Linked DNA regions of Homo sapiens: regions 1 and 3 are each linked to region 2. Evidence: promoter capture Hi-C in human tissues and cell types (Jung and others, 2019). All regions are on one chromosome and are shown on one strand. Each heading gives the region's core, a stretch centred on a gene start or on the middle of the fragment in contact. The rest is flanking DNA. Distances are from core to core; before and after follow the strand shown.

Region 1 (3,386 bases), core at 316-2,815, 360 kb after region 2:
GACGTTCTAGCCCGGCGAAGGTCCTCTTAAATTAGGAAACAATAGCTATTTAAGAAGAAGCGCAAATAACCCGCGCTCTGCGCGCCCAATCGTGGGATTCTTGGGAGTTCCCCGCGGGCAAGGAAGTCTGCTGCTCCCCGCAGCTGCGGAGGAGAGGAGGGAGCCTGCGTGCTGGGGCAGGGTGTCGCGAACTTGGGGCAACCCACCTCCAGAGCCCCGCCCCCGCTTTCCCGCCTGCCGGGGACCTGCCGAACGCGGAACCACCCTCCTTCCTGAGGCAAATTTGGGAGGGGAGAGGTCCAGAAGCTGTAGAGTCGGGGCGCCAAGCGCCAGATTCTGCCGCTCGGAAGTTGGGGGCAGTCCCCAGTCCCGCCTCAGGCCCCCGCGCTCACAGGGCGCTCCGCCGAGGGCGCGGGCCAGGCGCGCGGTGTCACCTCCACGAAGTCATTTACTTGCCCTGAAGGAGCTGGCCCTCGACCCCTTGGAGGATGGAGATTCCTCCCATTCCCTCCTCCGCCTCCCCCAGGTCGGCGAAGAGACGTGGAATTGAGCTGGACCGATGATTCCGCGAGCTCTGTAATTATGCACACACTGAAATCTTCACCGTTGACTTAAGTTACTTGGCGCTGCGAGGGCTGGGGCCCTGCATATTGATTAAATGCAGCCTCTATTTACCTAAACAATAAATGTAGAGATTAGCAACGTTCACTTGATCACAATAATGGGATTGACAATTAAGGGGCAATGCATCCCAGATGTAGCGGAACCTATGGGCTGCGTGCAGCAGGCAGAGGGCTTCTCAGAGAGGGGCGCTGGGCAGTTGCGGCGGCGGAGGTAGTGCAGAGCAGGAAGCAGCGCGGAAGCACAGCGGGAGGCGGAGGGGGACGCCCAGCCTCGTCAAGGTCTTCGGCCACCCCGCCCGGGAGGCTCGAAACTGGCTTTGGGGTACCTGAATGCCTCGACTCCCAGGGAGACATCGGGAGCTCGGAGCCACTCTCCCTGTGGCGATGGCACCTGCCTCAAGGCCGTCTCGCTTGCTGATGCCTGGCCGGGAAGGAGGATGGACGCCGCTGGCATGTGCCCTGGTAAGTGTGTCTGTTTGTCATCAGTGTACATTCTGCATGTGGCAGCAGGGCGAGGGGGAGGCGCACGTGTCTAAAGTGCACGGAGCCTTCCTCTACCCCTATGTATATACCCTTCAGTCAATGTTCCAAGAAGCGGGTCAGGGCGGAGGGTATCCATCTGGACTCTGGAAGGGCGTGGGTTTGACATCGGTAGGTGTGACAGGAAAGTCCAGCCTGTCAGAGTTGGGCTCTACAGTGGCCGAAATCAAGAAAGGATGGACGTGTCGGCCCAGGGCTGGCCTGTTTCCGGATATGTCACGGGGGTGCCTCGTTCCTCGAGGGGAGTTTTAGGATGTATCTTTTTTTCTCACCCTCTCACTGAACTGTAGGGTTCTGAGAAGAGGTTCTAGGAAGGAGAGGGCTGAAAGGAACTAAGAAAAGAACCCAGGAGAGTGGAACATGGGGTAATAAAAGACAGATGAGCACAGTTGGGTGTGTGTGTGAAACCGTGATCCACCTGGAAGGGGTTCCAAACCCTGGACTAACATCGCATACTGGCTGCAAAAGACACATGCGTGTTGCTTCTCTGCTCTTTCCCTCTTCTGTCTGAGCCCCATTATCAACCTGGAAGGCTTCTCATTCCACATTTAGACACAAACAAAAGGATTTGTCCCAGACACTCAAGAACAAGCCAGGACGAAGCCCTTTCCCGCCAAACCACGAAGGCCGGGAAATAAACAGCGCCTGCCCAGGCTCTGGGCGCGCGAGCCCAGGAGAGGACTTGGGTGGGAAGAGGATCTAGAAGATCGGAAGGAGGGAGAGAGGGAGGGAGAGAGGGAGGGAGGGAGAAGCTTGGAAAGAGAAGAGGGAGGAGGAAGAGGAGGGACCAGCAAGGCAGAGTTGGACCCGGGGTTCTGTTATAACCGCCCTTCCCCGCCCAGGGTCTTTCCATCCCCTGTCCCCCTCCCCCATTTCAGAGCTGAAGGCCGACTGTGGGAGGAGGAGGTTAAACAAAGGGAATCCTCCTCCTCTGGGACGGGTGAAGTGCGTTTGTCTTCTCCTTGCAGGCTCTGGAAAAACTGGCAGGAATTTCCTTGTCGTGAGAAGATGGACGAGTGTGTCTGCAGCCGAGGAGACAACTACAAACAGACTTTGGGCAGGGAAGGCGGGCGGGCGGGGGTGGGGGTGGGGGCGGGGGCCTGCTTTGATCGCTCCAGCTCTGTTGTAATTTTGTCTTCGCCAGATAGATTAGCTGGAACCGCCAGCCCTAGCTTGGAGTTCCGTTCCACGGAGTACCCTCCCTCCCCACCCCCAGCGTCATCTCGCGCCTGGAGCCGGGTCGCCGCTCCTTCCGAAGTCTCGCTGGAAACTTCAAGGGCTGATGGTTCTGTGTTCTTGACGTAATTAGGAGGCCACGCAGCTCTCCAACACTCCGTTAAACAAATATGTAAGTCGTCCTCCCCCTCTCTGGGGACAGACTCTAGGGAAGGAGGCAGCTGGGCCCGCTCCGGGTGGTGTCCTTGGCTAGCGGAGTGGCGTCGCTGTGACCTTCCGCCGCCCCTCGGGGCCTTGGTCTTTCTAAGCTCTTTCTTAGGAAGCGGAGAGAGGGGCAGAAAACGTGCACCTCGCCACCCACCGGACAAGCCGAGAGGACCTTGTCTTTGCTTGAAAAGTTTTCTAGATAAATCGCTCGGGTGGTTCTAAGCTATGACGAACTAGAGGCTGGGCCCGGTTCTTCTCCAGAACAGCGTGTGGATGTAAAGGAGATGAAATCGTCCTCCCCCACTGCTTTCTTTTTCTTCCCCATATAAATCAGTCATATAATTCATTCGCATTGTTTAAGGTACATTGATCAATCTAATGGCTTGTAATAGTCTCCTAATTGCCACTTGCAGACTCCTGCAGGCTCAGATTTGAAGAGGGAAGGTTCCAGCCAAGTCCACCTTAAGCCTGAGTTTGGGCGACTACAGAATCCAGGAAGAAAATCTAGATGGCATGGTCGCTCCGGTCTCAGTTCTACAGGGGAGGGAAGAAAGGGGGTGTTAGTGGGGATATTTGCTGTTCATTTTTCCCGCAATCTCCCTTCCAAATCAGTCACTGATTAATGAGCAAAGCCCATGCCACAAGTTATAGATTACTGTGGACTGAGGATCATTTTGTTAATATCAGGCAAGAAACTTGCCTTACTTGCATCCCTGTGTCTGTATTTACAGTAACAACTTCCTTAGTCACAAACTGATATGCTTTTAGCCATACCTTTTCTTCTTACTTACTTATTTTTAGCATCATCAGGAGTTGGGATAGGAAATAACATGGGGGAGG
Region 2 (3,368 bases), core at 252-2,751:
CGGCTGAGTGTCCTACCCCCAATGGGCGGGTTCAGAGAGGGAGACAGGGGGAGGGGGTGGCGGTTAGGGTCGGGCCGCCTTTCGCACAGGAAGTACGACTCGGTCCCCGCCGACTGCGCCCGGGCAAGCGCCAGCCCGCGCTCTCCTCCTCCTCCTCCTCCTCCTCCTGGTCCCGCCGCCAGCCCACGCCTGGCGTCCCCCGCTCCAAGCACCCCGGCTCCCCGGTCCGCGGGCAGGCGGGCGGCGGGCTGCGCGCCGGGCCTCCGCCTTCCGCCCGGAACCCACCCCCGGGAGGGCACGCTGGGGCCCACACTCACACGCGCACAAAAAGGCGGCAGGCGGGCGAGGCGGGGCGGCGCGGGCGGGGTCGGAGCGTTGGCGCCTCGGGCGGGCAGCTCCCGGGGCGGGGGGAGGGGAGTGGAGGGGAGGGGAGAGACGAGGAGGGAGGGGTGAGGCGAGGAGGGAGGGGAGAGGCGAGGGGAGGAGAAAGCGGCGCGAGGGGGGAGCCGGGCCGGGGTTCAGCCGCTCCTCACCTGGGCCGCCGCTGCCGCCGCCACCGCACCGTTTCCGTGCTGTTGCTGCTGCTGCAGATACTCGCCGTGGCCGCCGCCGCCGCCACCGCCGCCGCCGCTATCCACGTCCAAGGCAGCCATTTCCTCTTGTTTCACGGGCTTTTCGGGAGCTGCAGGCACAGCGCGGGGGGGTGGGGGTGGGGAGGAAGGCGGGTGGCGGAGAGGGAGGGGGCCCGCGGGCCGAAGCGAAATTACTCCCAAAGCCCGGACCCAGGCCCCTTCCCCTCCCCCACCCGCCCCCCGGCGGCGGCGGCGGCGGCGGCTCCCTCCTCCCCTCCTGCTGCTGCCCCCGCCCGCCGCTGCCTGTAACCCTCCTCCTCCTCCTCTTTCCCTCCTCCTCCTCCTCCCCGCGCTGCCCCTGCCCCCTCTCCTCTCCTCCCCTTTCCCTTCGCGCCGCTCGCTCTCACTCGCGCTCGCTCCTCTCGCACCGTCAGTCACTCACACACGCCCGCCCGCGCCCGCACACAGGGGGATGCGCTCCCGGCGGACCGGGCCGCCCGCCCCGGGGCCTGGCGGGGAGACGGCGTTGCTGGGGCTTCGGGGGTGGACGGTGGCTGGCGGGGAGGGGAGGGAGGCGCAGGGGAGTGCAGCTTTCTGCCTCTCACAGACACTCGGTCGCACACACGGGGCCGAGACCGGCGGCAGCGGCCCCGGGCTGGCTGTGGTCGGCGGCAGCGGCGGCGGCGGCAGCAGCAAGGGTTGCTCTCTCGGCTTTACGTACCGGTCATAGTGTGTTTAGGGCACCTCAGGCGGGGCTCCCCGCCGCCTTACACATGGTGAGGAGCGAAGGCGGCGGCGGCGGGAGAGGATGCGGGAAGCGGCGGCGGACACGGCCGGAGCGGTCCGGGGATTTTTTTTTCCTATTTTGATTGACTGTGCGGGAAACACAAAAGGTGGAGCCTCCAGCCCAAAAGGGGGGAAGAGGGTGACAGCCCGCCCGGAACTCCCGCCCCTCTTCTTGGCTCTCATTCGCCGCCGTGCTCTTTGTCGGCTGTGCTCATTGGTCCAGGCGCCTGTCCGTCGGTCTGCCAGGCGGCGCGCTTCCTGTTTGCCCCCGGGTGGAAGGGGAGAGACAATGAGCGGCCGTGGCAGCGTAGGTTTTCGAGAGCGGCTACGGCTCGCCGGTTACCCCGCTGTGCCCGCCTCCCTCGCCGGCTGCCGCTGCCAGGCCCGAGGCGCAGGCCTCCTCCACCTTGCAGGCGCTCGGAGCAGGCCTAGCCAAGCTGTAGGGGAGCTGAGCTGGGGAGGAAATTCGTCCCCGGTGACTCCTGCTCCACTGGACGCTTCCTCCATCCCGGCAGCAGTCTTGGCCGGATCTCCCCAGGGCCTCGCGCTCTTGGAGCCGCCGCTTCCCTGCGCTGCCAGGAGGCCACCGCTGCTCAGCCCCGGGGCTGCTGCTGCGGCCGCTGCCGCTACTGAGCAAACCAGACCCGCCCCACGAGCCCGGGGGGAGGGAGCTGGTATTAGGGGAGACACCCCCTCCGAGGCTGGAGGAGGATTTTTCTCTCTCACATCCAGCTTCCTGATTCAGTCACAGCCATCTCGCTCCCAGCCCCCTTAGCCCCAGTTTTCCAACCGGTCTCCCACTTTCACGTACCCTGAAGGCAGGCATTTAAAGCAAAAAAGAAATCTCAAGTCACCTCACATACGGAAGGAGAGTTTTAATTTTGGCCAGTGGCACCAAAACGGGCACTTAAAAGTATATTTCATTTTACTTGTGGTATGTGTATGTATTCAGTGGGGCAGAATTCTGTGTTTTAAAAAATCGGTCACATAACCATTTTGCTGCACAAACGTATTATTCCCGGCCTCTTTATCCTCTTGGTACCAAGTCAGATATCTCCTGAAATAAGCCCATCAACCACTGCCAACGTTTTTTAAAGTCGTGAACCGGTGAACTACCTTTTTTCCCCCATTGGAACATTTTTGTTGTATTTTAAAATCTTGTTTCTCTTACTGGATTAGGTTAACACTCCTTCCTTCTTTGGCATCCTTGGTATCTTGCTGTCATCCTGGGGGAAAATGCTCAGGTTTTAAGTGTGTGTTTTGCCAACTAAGAGACATCTCTCCCTGTTACCTTCAAGTATAGTTGCCAAGAAAGAAGTTAAATTCAAGAGGTGGAAACACTGTCCACAATACCTGTTTTTTAGAAATCTGGCTCAAGATTCAGTTTTCCCATTACTGTGATTATTATATTTTGTGTGATATGTGATGTGCTGGTGGATGAGGTTGTGAAGTCCAAGCACTTTAACCAGATTTTGTGTGTCCTAACTTAATAGGTAATCCATTTGTGAGATACTGAGTTTACATCCCAGTTCCAAAGCACTTAACCGCCTATGCTGACAGGATCAGAAACATTGTATGGTTACTTTGCTCTTAATTGTACAAAGATCAAATTTCCAGGGAATTAACCTAAAAACCACAAACATGCGGAAACGAGACTCAAAATTCTGAGTCCAAGAATAGGGTTCATCTCTTCTAATAGTCCTTGTAGTCTCATATTTAAGTGGAAAAGTCACTTTCAAAGTTGAGTCGTATAACCTATGTACTATTTTACAACAAAAACTTTTAAGGAAATAAAAGTCACAAAATAACCTGATTTGGGGTGGGGAAAATGGAAAAAGAGATGGGTGCCTTGAAGAGCGGGACAGGTGAAAATAAGTGGACTGGGAGGGAGGAAGGGAAGTCACTATTATCACTCTGTTCCTACCCGGATCTCTTGGGTGGAAGGTAGCTCTTTCCCTAGAAAGGATATTTCAGGCATTTTCAGTTTTGTTTTGTTTTTTTTTTCAGGAG
Region 3 (3,579 bases), core at 1,014-3,513, 270 kb after region 2:
CACAAACGTGAGTAATGCCTTGCACTATGAAATTACCACAACTACAGTATCACCAGGTGATAGAAAATTTTCACCTCCATTATAATCTCATGGGACCTCCGTCATATATGCAGTCAGTCATTGACCAACATCATTATGCAGCACTTGTCTGTAATAGGCATCCCAGAAAGGGAATAAAGTAGAAGATTATCTTCAAAGCACTAGAAGAATAACTGTTAACCTAGAATTCTACCCAGTGAAAATATCTTTCAAAATGAAGAAGTGATAAGCACATGAAAAGATGTCAATATTCTTAGCCATCAAGAAAACACCAATTGGCCAGCCACGGTGGCTCATACCTGTAATCCCAGCACTTTGGGAGGCGGAGGCAGGCGGATCACCTGAGGTCAGGAGTTTGAGACCAGCCTGGGTCAACATGGTGAAATCCTGGCTCTATTAAAAATACAAAAATTACCTGGTGGTGGCGCATGCCTATAATCCCTGTTACTTAGGAGGCTGAGGCAGGAGAATCACTTGAACCCAGGAGGTGGAGGCTGCAGTGAGCCAAGACTGTGCCACAGAACTCCAGCCTGGGCAACAGAGTGAGACTCTATGTCCAAAAAAAAAAAAAAAAAAAGAGAAAAAACACCAATCAAAAACTTCACAACTTGGCTATAATCAAAAAGATAACAACAAATGTTGACAAGGATGTGAAATATTGGAACCCACATACACCACCTGTGCGCACATAAAATGGTGCAGCCACTTTGGAAAACAGTTTGGCAGTCCTCAATAGTTAAATATACAGTCACATGTGACCCAGAAATTCTACTTCTAAATATATACCTAAGAGAAATAAAATCATATATCTAAATAAAAATTTATGTATCCTAAGGCTGAAGCAGACAGAGTACAAATAACATATTGTACTGAAATATAAAATATGTTGTATATAACTGAAAGATACTGTGGTGTCAGAAAGTAGAAAGCACTCAAAAAATAAAGAGGACATGTCAAAAGGAATATAAGTGAACATAAAGGCTCCTAATCACCAAATATGGGCAATTAGAGTGACAAAATAACAACAGTAATGGATTATAACCAAAAGAATAAATTAAGAATCTATACTGATATAAATAAATTATAATCAAATACATGAATAAATGGGAAACTCTTTTGTACAATAGGATTTTACACAATAGAAGTTCCATTGTTCCTTCTACAAATTGTTTCTTCTAAATGTAGAAGAAATAAGGGATATTTTTTAATCACCATTTGGCAAACACCACAATAATAACTGTTTCAGTAAGAATCAATAACACATGCCAAAATTAGGGGGCAAAAGTATGAGAAACAATATATGTACAAAATTTCAAAGGACCCCCTACAAGATGCTTATTAATTGCAATGGGAAAAATAACCCTTTCAGTGAAGAAATCTGTCAGATACCAACGAGCAATCAAAGTTAATATCACCAAAAATGGACAAATCAACATCATGTGCTTTCTAATACACTGTATTGAAAAGCATATGTCACTTATGTGCTCAAAAGTACATAACTTGAAATTAATTATGAGGAAACATCAGACAAACCCCAAATGAGAGCTGTACATAATAACTGGCCAGTACTCTTCAAAAGTGTCAAGGATATCAAACACAAAAAGAGACTGAGAATGTGTTCCAGGTTAAAGGAAACTAAGGAAACAAAACACTTAAATGCAGCTGGGCACAGTGGCTCATGCATATAATCCCAGCACTTGGAAGGACGAGGTGGGAGGATCACTTGAGGCCAGGAGTTTGAGACCAGCCTGGGCAACATAGTGAGAACCCATCTCTACAAAAAAAAAAAAAAAAAAAAAAGTTAAAAATTAGCCTGACATAATAAAATGTGCCTGCAGTCCCAGCTATTCAGGTGGCTGAGGTGGAAGCATCACTTGAGCCCAGGAATTTGAGGCTGCAGTGAGCTATGATCAGGCCAAGGTACTCCAGCCTGGATGACAGAGCGAGACTCTATCTCAAAAAAAAAACAAAAAACAATTAAATGCAACATACAATTATGGATTGAATCTTGGACCAAAAAAAGGACATTAGAGGGACAATTAGTAAATCAATGTTTATTTCCTGATTTTGATCATTGTATTATAGTTATAAAGATTTTAACACTTAGGGGATCCAAGCAGAGGTTAAATAGGAATTTTTAAAACTATTTTTGCAACTGTGAGTTTTTTTAAGCATGAAATTATTTCAAAAGAAATTTTTTTTCCATATGGGTCTTACTATATTGTCCAGGCTAGAGTGTAGTGGCTATTCAGAGATCTCACTACCCATCAGGACAGGAGTTTTGATCTGCTCTGTTTTTGACCTGGACCAGTTCACCCTCCTTAGACAACCTAGTGATCCTCCACTCCTGATAGGTCACCATATTGATGCTGAACTTAGTGCTGACACTGGATCACCACTGTGGGTGGCGTTGCAGACACCCAATCAGCATAGCACAACACAGCCCAGAACTCCTGGGCTCAAGGTATCCTCCTACCTCAACCTCCTGAGTAGCTGAGACTACATGTGGGCACCACTGAGACCAGCTCAAATTTTTTTTTAATTTAATCTTAAGTGAAAAGTCAAGCAAACTGGCAAGAGATCATTGTAATACATATCCAACAAAGAACTCATATCCAGAATAAAAAACTAATCATTAAGAAAAAAAAAGACTTTTTACATAAGATATCCAATAACATATGGAAAGATGCTCAAAATCACAAGCCATCAAGAGATATCTCTGATATCCATAGATACCTGTCTTCTCGGTAGACATGGGAATCTGACTCTTAGCTTAATTTTATCAGCTCTTTAGAATGAAAATACTCAGATCATCAGTATTTGCAGCCTAGAGAATAATTTTCCTCCTGTGAGTTCCTTTGAGCAATCAAGAATGGAGCTTCTAAAACACAAGTGAGCTAAGAATCAACTAGGCAGACTTCTAGGAACACATAGACATCACATATTTTGTATCAGGAAAATAGTGGACTGCAGTGGATTGAAGATGGCCACACATTTTTTGTCACTCCTCCCATCAAGAGGTAGAGTCTATTTCCCCTCTCCCCATGTCTCTGGGCTGGTGTCATGACTTGCCTTGACCAAAAGATTTCTGTGTAAGTTTGCTATGCCACTGCCACACCTCCATTCTCTCGAGAGCCAGACGCCAAGATATAAGGAAGCTTGGTCTAGAGACCACTTAGAAAGAGAATGAGGCCAAGTATAAGAGAAGTGCCCCAGACTTCCAGTCAATCCAGCTAAGGCCCCAGATCTGTTAAAATGGCCATCTTGGATCTTTCAGTCTCAACTAGCCACCAGCTGAATGCAGTCACATGAGGGATCCCAATGAGACTGGCAGAAGACCTTTCTAACTCACTACATTCCCGACGAACAAAAATTGTTACTATTTTAAACCATGAACTTTTGGAATGGTTTGCTACACATCAACAGATAACTATACAATGGTGATAATTCTCTTGTGATTTTTTCTTTTTTTTAGCATTTTCTACAACCTTTTCCCTCAGCAATGGTAAATGGCTTTCACAGACGCTGTGATTGGTCTGC

The links. Contacts are between HindIII fragments. The study calls those that stand out against the background at their distance.
Region 1: a fragment that was not itself captured here is called in contact with the fragment with the promoter of SP3 in region 2 in 1 of the 25 tissues and cell types used here (pancreas).
Region 3: a fragment that was not itself captured here is called in contact with the fragment with the promoter of SP3 in region 2 in 1 of the 25 tissues and cell types used here (H1 embryonic stem cells).

The regions. Positions count from the first base shown.
Region 1 is chr2:174,326,326-174,329,711 of GRCh38, forward strand. It overlaps LINC01305 (long intergenic non-protein coding RNA 1305), which reads left to right. Exons shown (of 3, transcript NR_038897.1): 1 at 1-1,085; 2 at 2,132-2,511; 3 at 2,960-3,386. Among named protein-coding and RNA genes, the nearest start is that of LINC01305, 2.0 kb to the left of the region's middle. RefSeq lists enhancers at 1-623, 91-210, 2,260-3,075. The HindIII fragment of the contact is 3,092 bases long and covers 20-3,111 here.
Region 2 is chr2:173,963,872-173,967,239 of GRCh38, forward strand. SP3 (Sp3 transcription factor) reads right to left here and starts at 1,502. Exons shown (of 7, transcript NM_003111.5): 1 at 1,294-1,502; 2 at 534-682; 3 at 1-12. The coding sequence starts at 1,300. RefSeq lists enhancers at 1-16, 17-839 and silencers at 80-569, 900-1,179, 1,680-1,749. The HindIII fragment of the contact is 28,349 bases long and covers 1-3,368 here.
Region 3 is chr2:174,237,898-174,241,476 of GRCh38, forward strand. All of the region lies in intron 2 of OLA1 (Obg like ATPase 1), which reads right to left. It also overlaps the pseudogene RN7SL65P. Among named protein-coding and RNA genes, the nearest start is that of OLA1, 8.8 kb to the right of the region's middle. The HindIII fragment of the contact is 7,216 bases long and covers 1-3,579 here.